Regions from separate parts of the Homo sapiens genome. Here regions 1, 2 and 3 are each linked to region 4. Evidence: promoter capture Hi-C in 16 types of primary human blood cells and fetal thymus (Javierre and others, 2016). All regions are on one chromosome and are shown on one strand. The core of a region is centred on a gene start or on the middle of the fragment in contact, and the rest is flanking DNA. Distances in the headings are between cores, read along the strand shown.

What was found. Contacts are between HindIII fragments. The CHiCAGO score rates a contact against its expected background, and 5 or more counts as called.
Region 1: a fragment that was not itself captured here is called in contact with the fragment with the promoter of RNF157-AS1 in region 4 in 16 of 17 cell types (activated CD4 T cells, M1 macrophages, M0 macrophages and 13 more); the score reaches 14.8 in activated CD4 T cells.
Region 2: a contact is called between a fragment that was not itself captured here and the fragment with the promoter of RNF157-AS1 in region 4, in 5 of 17 cell types (M1 macrophages, total B cells, M2 macrophages and 2 more). The highest score is 6.0, in M1 macrophages.
Region 3: a contact is called between a fragment that was not itself captured here and the fragment with the promoter of RNF157-AS1 in region 4, in 7 of 17 cell types (non-activated CD4 T cells, naive CD4 T cells, naive CD8 T cells and 4 more). The highest score is 13.5, in non-activated CD4 T cells.

What each region holds. Positions count from the first base shown.
Region 1 is chr17:76,288,398-76,291,343 of GRCh38, forward strand. It overlaps QRICH2 (glutamine rich 2), which reads right to left. Exons shown (of 19, transcript NM_001388453.1): 4 at 2,618-2,946; 5 at 1,595-1,680. Among named protein-coding and RNA genes, the nearest start is that of QRICH2, 18 kb to the right of the region's middle. The HindIII fragment of the contact is 4,189 bases long and covers 1-2,946 here.
Region 2 is chr17:76,336,575-76,339,686 of GRCh38, forward strand. All of the region lies in intron 3 of PRPSAP1 (phosphoribosyl pyrophosphate synthetase associated protein 1), which reads right to left. It also overlaps the pseudogene RNU6-24P. Among named protein-coding and RNA genes, the nearest start is that of PRPSAP1, 16 kb to the right of the region's middle. The HindIII fragment of the contact is 279 bases long and covers 1,424-1,702 here.
Region 3 is chr17:76,269,657-76,272,473 of GRCh38, forward strand. UBALD2 (UBA like domain containing 2) reads left to right here. Exons shown (of 3, transcript NM_182565.4): 3 at 538-1,642. The coding sequence ends at 849. Among named protein-coding and RNA genes, the nearest start is that of UBALD2, 5.7 kb to the left of the region's middle. RefSeq lists enhancers at 405-594, 1,475-1,694, 2,282-2,806, 2,635-2,684, 2,807-2,817 and a silencer at 2,385-2,484. The HindIII fragment of the contact is 5,749 bases long and covers 1-2,817 here.
Region 4 is chr17:76,138,831-76,141,939 of GRCh38, forward strand. It overlaps RNF157-AS1 (RNF157 antisense RNA 1), which reads left to right and starts at 1,726. Exons shown (of 8, transcript NR_040017.1): 1 at 1,726-1,850. It overlaps FOXJ1 (forkhead box J1), which reads right to left and starts at 2,415. Exons shown (of 3, transcript NM_001454.4): 1 at 2,284-2,415; 2 at 1,068-1,734. The coding sequence starts at 1,565. RefSeq lists an enhancer at 182-841 and silencers at 1,253-1,442, 1,503-1,572, 2,251-2,410. The HindIII fragment of the contact is 14,991 bases long and covers 1-3,109 here.

The DNA.
Region 1 (2,946 bases), core at 22-2,521, 150 kb after region 4:
AAAAAAAAAAAAAAAGGAATGACTGGGCCGGGCGTGGTGGATCACACCTGTAATCCCAGCACTTTGGGAGGCTGAGGTGGGAGGATCACCTGAGGTCAGGAGTTCCAGACAAGCCTGACCAACATGGTGAAACCCTGTCTCTACTAAAAATACTAAAATTAGCTGGGCATGAACATGCATGCCTGTAATCCCAGCTACTTGGGAGGCTGAGGCATGAGAATAGCTTGAACCCAGGGGGCAGAGGTTGCAGTGAGCCGAGATCGCATCATTGCACTCTAGCCTGGGCAACAGAGCGAGACTCCGTCTCAATTTAAAAAAAAAAAGGAGAATGTCTGAAGGGATCTGGCCGTCCCTTGCAATGACCTCTGGCCCCAGAAAATCCACAAACTGGACTCCAAGGCTGCCACAGATAATGAAAAGAGCAAGGCCGGGTGTGGTGGCTCACGCCTGTAATCCCAGCACTTTGGGAGGCCGAGGCAGGCAGATCACAAGGTCAGGAAATCGAGACCATCCTGGCTAACACGGTGAAACCCCATCTCTACTAAAAATACAAAAAATTAGCCGGGCGTGGTGGCGAGCACCTGTAGTCCCAGCTACTTGGGAGGCTGAGGCAGGAAAATGGCGTGAACCTGGGAGGTGGAGCTTGCAGTGAGCCGAGATTGCGCCACTGTACTCCAGCCTTGGCGACAGAGTGAGACTGTGTCTCAAAAAAAAAAAAAAAGAAAAAAAGAAAAGAGCAAAGCCCTCATTATTTGGCTCAGCTGAATCATAATAGCTTTGAGCATCAGTTTTTAAAAAAAATTTTTTTAGAGACAGGGTCTTGCCCTGTCACTCAGGCTAGAGTGCCATGGCGTGATCATAGCTTACTGCAGCCTCAAACTCAGGCTCAAGTGATCCTCCTGCCTCAGCCTCCCAAGTAGCTGAGACTACAGGCATGCACCACCATGTCTGGCTAATTTTTAAATTTTTTGTAGAGATAAGTCCTTGCTATGTTGCCCAGGCTGGTCTCGAGCTCCCGGGCTCAAGTGATCCTCCTGCCTTGGCCTCCCAAAGTGCTGGGATTATAGGCATGAGCCAGCGTGCCCAGCCTGAGCATCAGGTTTTAGATCCAGGAAATGAACACGATGATACCCAAGGTGCAGTTCCTATCTGATAAGATTGCAAAGATCCAATTAGATAATAATGTAAAAGAAAGAGCTATTTAATCCGTAAAATACAAATGGAAAGTGCTATTATTAGCATTAAAAGACAAAGTGGGGGCTGGGCACGGTGGCTCACGCCTGTAATCCCAGCACTTTGGGAGGTCAAGGTAGGCAGATCATCTGAGGTTGGGAGTTCAAGACCAGGCTGACCAACATGGAGAAACCCCATCTCTACTAATAATAATACAAATAATAATACAAAATTAGCCGGGCATGGTGGCACATGCCTGTAATCCCAGCTACTCGGGAGGCTGAGGCATGAGAATCGCTTGAACCTGGGAGGTGGAGGTTGAGTGAGCTGAGATGGTGCCACTGCACTCCAGCCAGGGCGACAAGAGCAAAACTCCATCTCAAAAAAAAAAAAAAGACAAAGTGGGTTGACTCTTCCTTACTTTTGCTTTCTCCTGCCAAACTTCTTTGGCTAGCGTCTTTACGGTCTTCAGCTGCTCCTGCAGTTCAGGAGGTATGGTCCTTTTGACTATGGAAAGCAGAAGCCTTATGATCAGAGGGGTTAGATCTCTAGTGGGCTCCCAATCTCCATTTCCAGCCCCTGTAACACTGAAGCTACCCTAGAGGACAGCAGGACCTATTACTTTATCCTGTGTCTCCTGGTGACTGGGAAAGGGAGGTGGGAAGAAGGGAGAGAGAGCTGTCCTTAGCCCATGAAACATCCACCTAATGCCTGACATCCTAAAGGGCTTTGGGACAACTGACTCCCGAATTCCAACCACTGCAAAAAATCTTAATTACTCTCTGGGCTTGGAGTTGGGAACAGGCAAATGTTAAGTTTTGTTTTGTTTGAGACAGGGTCTTGCTCTGTCACCCAGGCTGGAGTGCAGTGATCCATCACAGCTCACTGCAACCTCTGCCTCCCTGGCTCCAACAATCTTCCCACCTCAGCTTCCCAAGTAGCTGGGACTACAGGTGTGTGCCACCACGCCTGGCTAATTTTTTTTTTGTTTTTTTTGGTAGAGATAGAGTTTTGCCACATTGCCTAGGCTGGTCTCGAACTCGGCCTCAAGCTATCCACCCAGCTCTGCTTCCCAAGGTGCTGGGATTACAGGTGTGAGCCATTGCTCCCAGTCAAAATGTTAAGTTTAATTCTTCAACATTCTCTCCCGCCCACCTCCCAATGCTACTGCTCTCTATAACCAGACACTTTCCCCCACTGCTGTGCAGAGAGCCTGACAAAGCCACAAGAACCCGCTCCACTCCTCTCCTGGGGCTTAGTTCTCTCCTTTGCCCACCCATTTTTTTGGACTCTGAAGGCTGTGGGACATGCTCTGAATGACATGCTGTTTTCAGGGACTCAGGGAGATGTGTAGCAGCCAGGAGTTGAGGCCAGGGGAAGAAAAGGATGAAACCAACTGAAAACAGAGACAATGGTTTCTCCTCTATCGGCAAGCGGCACCCACCCATCTGTGCCAGCAGGAACTGGATCTTCTCCAAGTCGGTTTGGCCGGCCTGCTCCTCATCCAGATCCTTCATACTCTCCTTTAGCCCCACATAGAGGCTACTGAGCTCTCCCATCAGATGAAATGTCTCCACTGCCGTGGGGAAACTAGAACTCATTCTACGCAGTGAATTGCGTCGCTCACTCAGGACTTCACTCGAGACTTCGCTCCCTTCTGATAAGACTCGGTCGACGGAGTCTGGACTCCTGAAAAGAGTGACATCTTGGCCTGGGGCCTTCTGGGCAGGAATTCCATGTCGGTCCGAGGCTCGTGTTCTATTTGGATCCAAA
Region 2 (3,112 bases), core at 313-2,812, 200 kb after region 4:
ATACAAAATTAGCCAGGCATGGTGGTGCATGCCTGTAATCCCAGTTACTCAGGAGGCTGAGGCAGGAGAATAGCTTGAACCTGGGAGGTGGAGGTTGTGGTGAGCCGAGATCATGCCATTGCACTCCAGCCTGGGCAACAAGAGTGAAACTCCATCTCAAAAAAAAAAAAAAAAAAAAAAAAAGAGCAATTTCCCATGAGGTTTTTATTTTCCATTTTTCCAAGGGATTCAACATCCTCCAGCCCAACGCTAAAGAAAGCTCCATACCTCACCCCTTATTGGTCAGAAAGGTGACAAAAGGGGCTTTGTCACATTGGCTTTACCCATTCACTGAGAGATACCGGACAAATTGGACACCAGGCAGTTACTTTGTGAACTAGCAGGGCGAAGGGAAATCGGCTGGCAGTCTCTGCTTTATCTGTTCCCTAAGAATGTTGCAAGTACACCCTGGCTAGCTCTTGTAGTCTTTATCTCTAAGTAGGACATTCTTAATTGTTTTACCAACTACTTTTCTTTCTTTTTTTTAAATAGAGAAAGGTCTCACCATGTTGCCCAGCTGGTCTTGTACTCCTGGGCTCAGGCAATCCTCCCGCCTTGGCCTCCCAAAGTGCTGGGAGTACAGCTTGAGCCATCATGCCCAGACAACCAACTACTTTTCTTTCCCCTAAGAAAACCACATCCTATATTAAGTCCAGCCCTTACTGCTCTAGCATTTTGGACAGGCAAAAACTAACCTGAGGTGTGCTCTCTTCAGCAGCACATATACTAAAATTGGAATGATACAGAGAAGATTAGCATGGCCCCTGTGCAAGGATGACACGCAAATTCGTGAAGTGTTCCATATTGGAAAACAACAACAACAACAACAACAACAAACTAACCTGAGATGAGGAAACAGGCATGGTATACGCATTCATTAAACTAGCCAGGCTCGCAAAAAGAGAAACCACACCACAGCTGGAAGTAATGGGGGAGAATTTACCCTGCTCCCAACTGTAACAATTAATCATCTGCAGCAGCTGGGAATTTTTTGTTGTTGTTTTGAGACTGAGTCACTCTGTCACCCAGGCTGGAAGGCGAGAGTGCAGTAGCACCATCTTGGCTCACTGCAACCTCTGCCTTCCGGGTTCAATCGATTCTCCCACCTCAGCCTTCCGAATATCTGGGATTACAGGCACCTGCCACCATGCCTGGTTAATTTTTTGTATTTTTAGTAGAGACGGGGTTTCACCATGTTGGCTAGTCTGGTCTCAAACTCCTGACCAACTGATCCACCTGCCTCGGCCTCCCAAAGTGCTGGGATTACAGGTGTGAGCCACCGTGCCCAGCTGTAAATGTTATTTTAATGAGTCTGCTTACTTTACATCAACACACTAGAACTTGTACATAAACATAAAAATTAACCTTTAAAATATACTTCATAAGCTTCATATTTTACTTAGTTCCATTGCTTGGTATATCTGGAAAATCTCTGAGTATCGCACAGTTCAATTACCCAAAATAATCATTTTGTTCTGAATGGCTTTTTGCCATTTCCAAAAATTAAACCTATCCTCAACGACCAAAAGGTTGCTATTATTAGAACAGTCAAAAGAAATATGCTGCAAGTTTGGAAGCAGTAGTTCCAAAGCTATTCCAAGCAAAAACAGCACCAAAAAAAGGTATCTATGTGATTTTAGAACAACAGCTCTGAAGGCAACTAAGCTTATTTTAATGTCTAAGCTTTGGTCTGTTTGCCTAAAATTAGCCTTATTACTTTAGGCAATGCCCCCTTCCTCCCAACAACAGAAAAACCTGTAAAAGATATTCCTTCATCTATGTAACCGCAGATAATATTAAAAAACCAGGTCGGGCACAGTGGCTCATGCCTGTAATCCTAACATTCTGGGAGGCTGAGGCAGGTGAATCACCTAAGGTCAGGAGTTCGAGACCAGCCTAGGCAACATGGAGAAACCCCATCTCTACTAAAAATACAAAAATTAGCTGGGTGTGGTGGTGTGCACCTGTAATCCCAGCTACTCAGGAAGCTGAGACAGGAGAATTGCTTGAACCCAGGAGGCAGAAGTTGCAGTAAGCCGAGATTGTGCCACTGCACTCCAACCTGGGCAACACAGCAAGACTCCGTCTCAAAAAATAAATAAAATAAAATATAAAATATAAAATAAAATAAAAAATTAGGCCAGGCATGGTGGCTCATGCCTGTAATCCCAGGACTTTGGGAGGCCGAGGTGGATGGATCACCTGAGGTCAGGGGTTCAAAACCAGCCTGGCCAACATGGTAAAACCCCATCTCTACTAAAAATACAAAATTAGCCAGGCATGGTGGTACATGCCAGTAATCCCAGCTACTCGGGAGGCTCAGGCAGGAGAATCACTTGAACCTGGAAAGTGGAGGTTGCAGTGAGCCAAGGTCACACCACTGCACTCCAGCCTGGGCAACAAGAAAGAAACTCGTCTCAAAAAAAAAATTAAATTAAATTAAATTATCTGTGTTCTTTAGTTGGTACTAAAGTATCCAGTACTCAAGCACTACAAAAACTAGTTTATTGACTGGGCACGGTGGCTCACGTCTATAATCTCAGCACTTTGGGAGGCCAAGGCGGGTGGATCACCTGAGGTCAGGAGTTTGAGACCATTCTGGTCAACACTGTGAAACCCCGTCTCTACTAAAAATACAAAAATCAGCTGGCTGTGGTGGCACACGCCTATAATCCCAGCTACTCAGGAGGCTGAGGCAGGAGAATTGCTTGAACCTGGGAGGCAGAGGTTGCAGTGAGCCGAGATCACGCCACTGCACTCCAGCCTGGGCAACACAGCAAGCCTCCGTCTCAAAAAAACAACAAAAAGAACCAGTTTATTGTGACAAACCTAATAACCTTCTTTATGGGCTGCACACCCACACAAAACAACACATCCAACCTGTCTTTTTTCCAAATTTTTCCTTTCTTCTTCCATCCCTATCAGCTTAAGAGACAGAGAAAATGCCAGGTGATGATATTTTTGCTTTGATGCTCTTAAACTGAACCACTGGGAAGAGACTTGCGGCTTTTATCTCAACACCAAATACACATAAAGAAACTTCACCATCTTCAGGAGAGGGTTCTGGTTTTCA
Region 3 (2,817 bases), core at 265-2,764, 130 kb after region 4:
AAGGGAGGCAAAGCCTTCAAGGCCTGGTGGCTGTCACCCTTAGTGTGGTGTGAACCCATCCACCAAGGTGGCTTAACTTTTCCAGGGTTGGCACAGGAGGGAGAGCCTCCCCGCTGGCCGCTCTCCCTTGCCTAGCAGCCTGGGAGCATCTGAGGGTGGCTGGTGGGGCAGTCAGCTGGTCTCCCTGCCCAGGGAAGGTGCGGAACAGTGGTGTCCTGGGCTGCCCCCTTGCCCTTTCACTTTAATCTGACACCTTAGCTCCTGGGTGCAATTAACCATTTACTTTGAATGCTCCTCGGGGTGTCATTTCCAGGCCTCATGAAACCCCGTTGGTTTTGATAAGGTTCTTGGGTTTTGTCCTTGTTTTCTGTTTGTATTGCCTCGGGGAGAGGGCACTTTTGTCCTGTGGAAGCTGCTTGTGCGAAAATGAATGAAGCTGAAAAATGGGAGTAAAGGAGCGGCTGGCCTGGGTAAGCCCCATCCAGTGGCTCGGGGACCCCCGAGGCAGCCTCCCCACACCCGTGTTCTCTCCCGCAGATGTGCACTCCCAGCAACACCCCTGCCACGCCGCCCAACTTCCCCGATGCGCTGGCCATGTTCTCCAAGCTCCGCGCCTCCGAGGGCCTGCAGAGCAGCAACAGCCCCATGACAGCCGCAGCCTGCTCCCCACCTGCAAACTTCAGCCCCTTCTGGGCCTCGTCCCCGCCCAGCCACCAGGCGCCCTGGATCCCGCCCTCCTCCCCCACCACCTTCCACCACCTCCACCGCCCACAGCCCACGTGGCCCCCAGGAGCACAGCAGGGGGGCGCCCAGCAGAAAGCCATGGCGGCCATGGACGGCCAGAGATGAGACTGGACGCCGCCGGGCGCTGGGCTGGAGCTGGGGGCAGCCCAGGGTTGTGGGGACACAGGAGGGCCAGGGAGGGGGGAGCCGGGGAGGGCAGGGGGTTTCCCGAAGATCGCACTGGAAGATTTTATAAAAGAATTTTTGTGGGTCGGGGGGACAGTAAACTTCCTGGGCCACGTGGGTCCTTCAGGAGTTTTTCAGGCAAGTTTTTCCTCTGTTTTTAATATATAACTATAATATATATGAATAGATAAATATAACTAATGTGCGTGAGAATGGGCCTGGCACACCTGGGGTGCTCGGGGGTAGGGCTGCCATGCTGCAGAGCTGATGGAGTGATGTTGTGGGCACAAGGCATCTGTCAGCTGCCTCCTTTAACAGCCATGCCTTCTGGAATCTGGAAGAGGACACCACTCCTGCAGTCACTGGGCAGCCACATAGCAGCTGCAGGTCCCAGGAGGGCCTGAGGTCAAAGCTGTGGAAGGCCCTCTTGGTATCAGGGCTCTCTCCCCATGGCCTCTTCCCCACCTCTGATTGCTGGTTGTGGCCCCATAGCTCATCACCCCTGTCTCCTGCTGAATGTGCAGGGCTGATGTGGCACTGAGGAGCTGACTTTGGTCAAAGGCCAGGCTCTGCCCAGCAGGGGACTTGACTGCCCTGGGCGCCCTGCCCCTCCCGCTGCGTGTCCAGGTCCAAAGTGGAGAGCCTGCCTTTGGGTTTAGTTCCCGAATCAGAATCCCATCTCACCAGGGCGAAATTTTAATTTAAAAACTTAAAAAGAGACTTTTCTAACTTCCCTGGTTTGCGGTGCTTTTATTTCCGTTGGTGGGAAAAGCGGTCTCCTCAGAAGAGGGGTGGTGGGGGTCCCTTGCCACTGGGCTGGTCTGGATGTTTTTGCTGTGGGATGGTCACACCAGGGGCTCTGACAGCAAGGTCCAGGTTGGTGTGGGGAGGAGAGAGGGGCCGGGGTCCGTCCTGAGTTTCTGTGACCTTCCCTTCTTGGCCCCATCGGTGTAGCCCCCACCCACAGAGCCCTAGTGAGAAGAGCTGGAAGCCATTTTCATCTACAGTGGGGAGAGCTTCCTTCTAGCTGGGGGCCTCCTGATGGCCCCCCCAGGCCCTCCCAGGAAGCATCTTCCAGCTGGGCTCATCTCCGATACTCCTCTCCTCAGCTTCCCGGGGGCAGTATGTCCCTTTGGGTCATGGCCTGTGGAGTGGCCATGACCCAAAGTTCAATTAAGGCTGGCGGGTCCCCAGAGGGGCCTGCTTCCATTCCCCCTTCCCCGCAGCCCTGCAGGCGTCAGCATGGGGCGAGGTTACCAGTTCCTGACCCAGCAGCTCGTCCTCAGGTGGTCCTGCTGCTCGGGAGGTCAGCTGCGTGGGGAGCCTGTCCACCTGGCTGATGGGGGTGATGGCCGCGTGGCTGGGATTCCTCCTCCAGCCCTGCCCTTCACCGCCATACAGTCTGGGCAGCCCCTTCCTGTCCCGTCCTCCTGCCTCGCCCTCTGCTGGGGTCTACGGGGCCCAAGTCTTGCTGGAACACAGGCAGGACAAGGGTTCTGGAGGTTCAGGCCGGAAGTGAAATAAAAGTCGAGAGGGGCCGGGCCCGGCACCCACCGCATCCTGCCTCCGGGCCTCCTCGGGCCCCTCACACGGTGGGGCAGCCCCTCCTCCAGTGGAGCGGAACGGTGGGCCCCGCTGCCCCTCCACCCCTGCGTGTGACACGGACGTGCTTGGAAGCTGGGTTCGTCCTTTCAGTTTTGTTTCCTGGTTGGAAACCCCTGAGACTCCTCCCCCTCCCCCCGCCCCTGCCCACCTGTGCTTTCCCAGGCTGGAAGGGGCAGCCCCTCTCAGCACGTGGGTGGTTAGGCTGTGACGTCCCCAGGCCTCCTGGGCCTGCACCGGGGTCCACCCAGGTGTGGGCCATGCCCAGGTGCGGGAATGGTCGGGGGTTGCCCTGGCCGGCTTAGG
Region 4 (3,109 bases), core at 476-2,975:
CCTGCTCTAGGGTCAGGGGCATTGGAAATGGCTTGGGACTGCGGTCCTGTGGCCTGCCCGCTTTGGGTGCTTCAGGGAAGAGTCTGGGCGTCCTTGGGGGGCCCCTGACTCCAACTAGCCCTTGATGGTGATGGCTGAAGACTCTTAGGGCACTGCCTACCCAGCCTCAAATCCACCATCCTCCTGCCTTGTCCATTCTTAGGTGCTTAATCTTGTCCAAAGCCTGCTGGGGGACAGGGGTCCTGGGCTGGGACGGCAGGGCAGGTGGGTGGATAATGCCCGGCAGCAAGGCTGGGATGTTTACATGGTGGCCTGGGCCCCTTGGCTGCTCAGTGCCTGGTTCCAGAGACGTGGAACACGAAGTGAGTGTGGTAGGCAGAGCCCCAGTGGAAGGCACCTGGCTCAGGTAATTGTCCCCCCAGGGAGGTTGGCTGACAGCGGGGGTTGGAGGCAGGAAACTGAGCAGAGGTTGAGGTGGGGGGCTGGGACAGCAGCTTTAGGAAGGCCCCTTACCCCCTCCACCCTCCATTGGGACACACCTGGCCCTCACATGCTAAGGCACCCCTTCCATTCCACCCTCCCCAAGCCAACTGCAAAAGGGCAGGACGTAGAGCCTGGCAGGGAGGCCACGTTCCAGTTTCCGTTTCTGACTCCCGGCCCCGACAAACCATCCCGGGGCAGGGCAGTGTCTAGGAATTCTAGGACTTGGGACAAGAATGCGCCTTCAGTTCATCGCTCTCCCCAAGGAGATTCTGTCCACGCAGAGTCTAGCCCTGGTCTTTGGCCTGGGCCTGCTGGATGAATGGCAGGTTATTTCCCCTTGAATCTCAGCCTCTGCACCCCTAAAGCCCTCCACCTCTGGACATTCTCCCTTCTCTCTCTCTCTCTCTCTGGAAGTCAAAGGAGGGGCAGTTGCAAGAACTGGGCTCCTTTGCAGGGCTCCCTTCTGGGGCGCTGGCCGCACCGCAGAGCCTACTTGGCCTGCAGATTTGGGATATGAATCCAGTGCAGCGTGGGGAGCGAGGAGGGAATGGGGAGGGAGCGGCCGCCGCCCGTGCCTCCTCTACCTGCCAGGTGGGATCTGCGTGGCGGAAGTAGCAGAAGTTGTCCGTGATCCACTTGTAGATGGCCGACAGGGTGATCTTGGTGGCCTTGCTGGCCTGCATGGCCATGCAGATGAGCGTGGCATACGAGTAGGGAGGCTTCACGTGCGGATTGGTGGCGTAGTCCACGTCGTCGGGGGGTGGGGCCTGCAGCCCCGGGGGCGCGCTCCGCGACGTGCACGACGACGTGGGCTTGCCCGGCGTGTGTGGCTGCCCCAGGCAGGCGGGGTCGGCCGCCAGGGGGGACCCGGGCGCCGCTGAACCTGGCACCTGGTGGTAGCCGTGGGGGTCGGTGCCCCCCGGGGGCAGGGCGGGGGCCTTGGCGTTGAGAATGGAGAATTCCTGCAGCCACTGCAGGCTGGTCAGGCTGTCATCCAGGGCGTCGGGCTCCTCCAGGCCGCCCTCCGGCCCGGCCTCCTCCGCCGGCCCGGCTCCCGAGAGGCGCAGCCAGCTCTCCGCCATGTCTGCGGGGACTCTCCGAGGGGGCGGTCAGCATCCACGGGCTGAGCCGGGGGTGGCCCGCCGCGCTCTCTGGCCCGCTGAGTCCCGCAGCTCCCGTTACACGGCCTCCCGGACGCGCGCTTCCATCTCGCGACCCCGGGGGCGCCTCCTCCGAATAAGTATGTGGTGCCTGCGAGGACCACGGTGGGAGCTGAGCACTACCCCACCCCCGAGGGGACAGTGTGTGTACGGGGACGCCCTCTCTAACATCATCCCCGCAGCTGGGGAGGATCTTTTAGTGCCGAGGTATGGGAAACAGAAGCAAGGCCCTGGGGTCCCACCCCCATCAGATCTGCCTCCCTCTTCCTTTCCTCTTCGAGGTTTTATTAGCCAAATGAAGAGGGTAGGGGCATCCGAGGCTATCCTTTTCTCCCGAAGAGCAGGAAATCAGGACCCCCTTCCTCCTCGCAACAAATGGAAGTGGGGCGAGAAGTTTGGGAGGGCGGTACGACGGGGCGGGGGCGGTGGAGGTCCTCTGATCCTTGAAAAGGAATATTATGATAGGGGATCATTGGGAAGGAAGGGGACGGAACAGTAACGGGGGGCAGGAGGCGAGTTTCCCCCAGACTTCTCCGATGTCAGTCCCTGGGCCCACCACTTCCGTTAAGGACGAATGAGAGAGCGGGTTGGTACCGTTGCCCACCCTTCCCCCTGGCCTGCAGCCCTCCCCATCCCTTACCTGGCTCAGAGCGCAGCCCGGGCCAGAGGAAGGTTCTGGAAGAAGTTGCTCCCACCCCCTGCGGCTCTCTGCCCCCAGCTCGGGGGCCCTGCCAGCGCCTCTTGCCGCCCCCCCGCCCGACGGCGCTTCTCTGAGCTACCGCGGCCCCGGGACCGGCATTAAGTAGCCGCTCCAAAGGCTTCTCCTGCTGCCATGGCGACGCTCCGCCCCCATAAACAGCTTCCGCCTCTGCCATTGGCCAGCACGTCTCCAAGGAGACCGCGGGCACTTGCCACTCTCCCTGGCGGCAACTCTCTTCGAACTCCCTCCTTCTGCCGCCCTCTCCCGCGCCACCCAACCCCCTACCCGCCGCTAAGTCCCGGCTCGGCTCATTCCCGCCCGAGGGCCCCGCGCTGGGGTCGGAGAAGCGCGCGGCCTGCGGCACCGGGAACCGCTATGGATCCGTTCGTTCTGGGGAACCAAGACTCTCGCCCCCACCCCCTTCCTGTCCCGTACGCTTTGAGGCGTCGACTGCTCCTGGGACGGAGCCTGGGGTTGGGGGGCTAAGGCTGGGAGCGGGCTCAGGCTCGGGAACCGTATCCTTGAGGTTTTCTTTCCTCTCCGCTACGAGTGGCACTTTCTCATGTTTCTGCAGCCTTTCCCTCTCCCCCGACTCTTAGGGTCTTTCTCTGGTGTCCCAGGCAGGTCTGACTTTCCGATGCCACCTGCCGCTTACATCCACAGAGGCGGCAGACACACCAAGGGGGTAGGGTAATCCAGTGTGTCCCAGTAAGCAGCTCCTTCCCCACCCGTATCCTCGAGGTTCCAGGAAGCTGACATTCCAGAG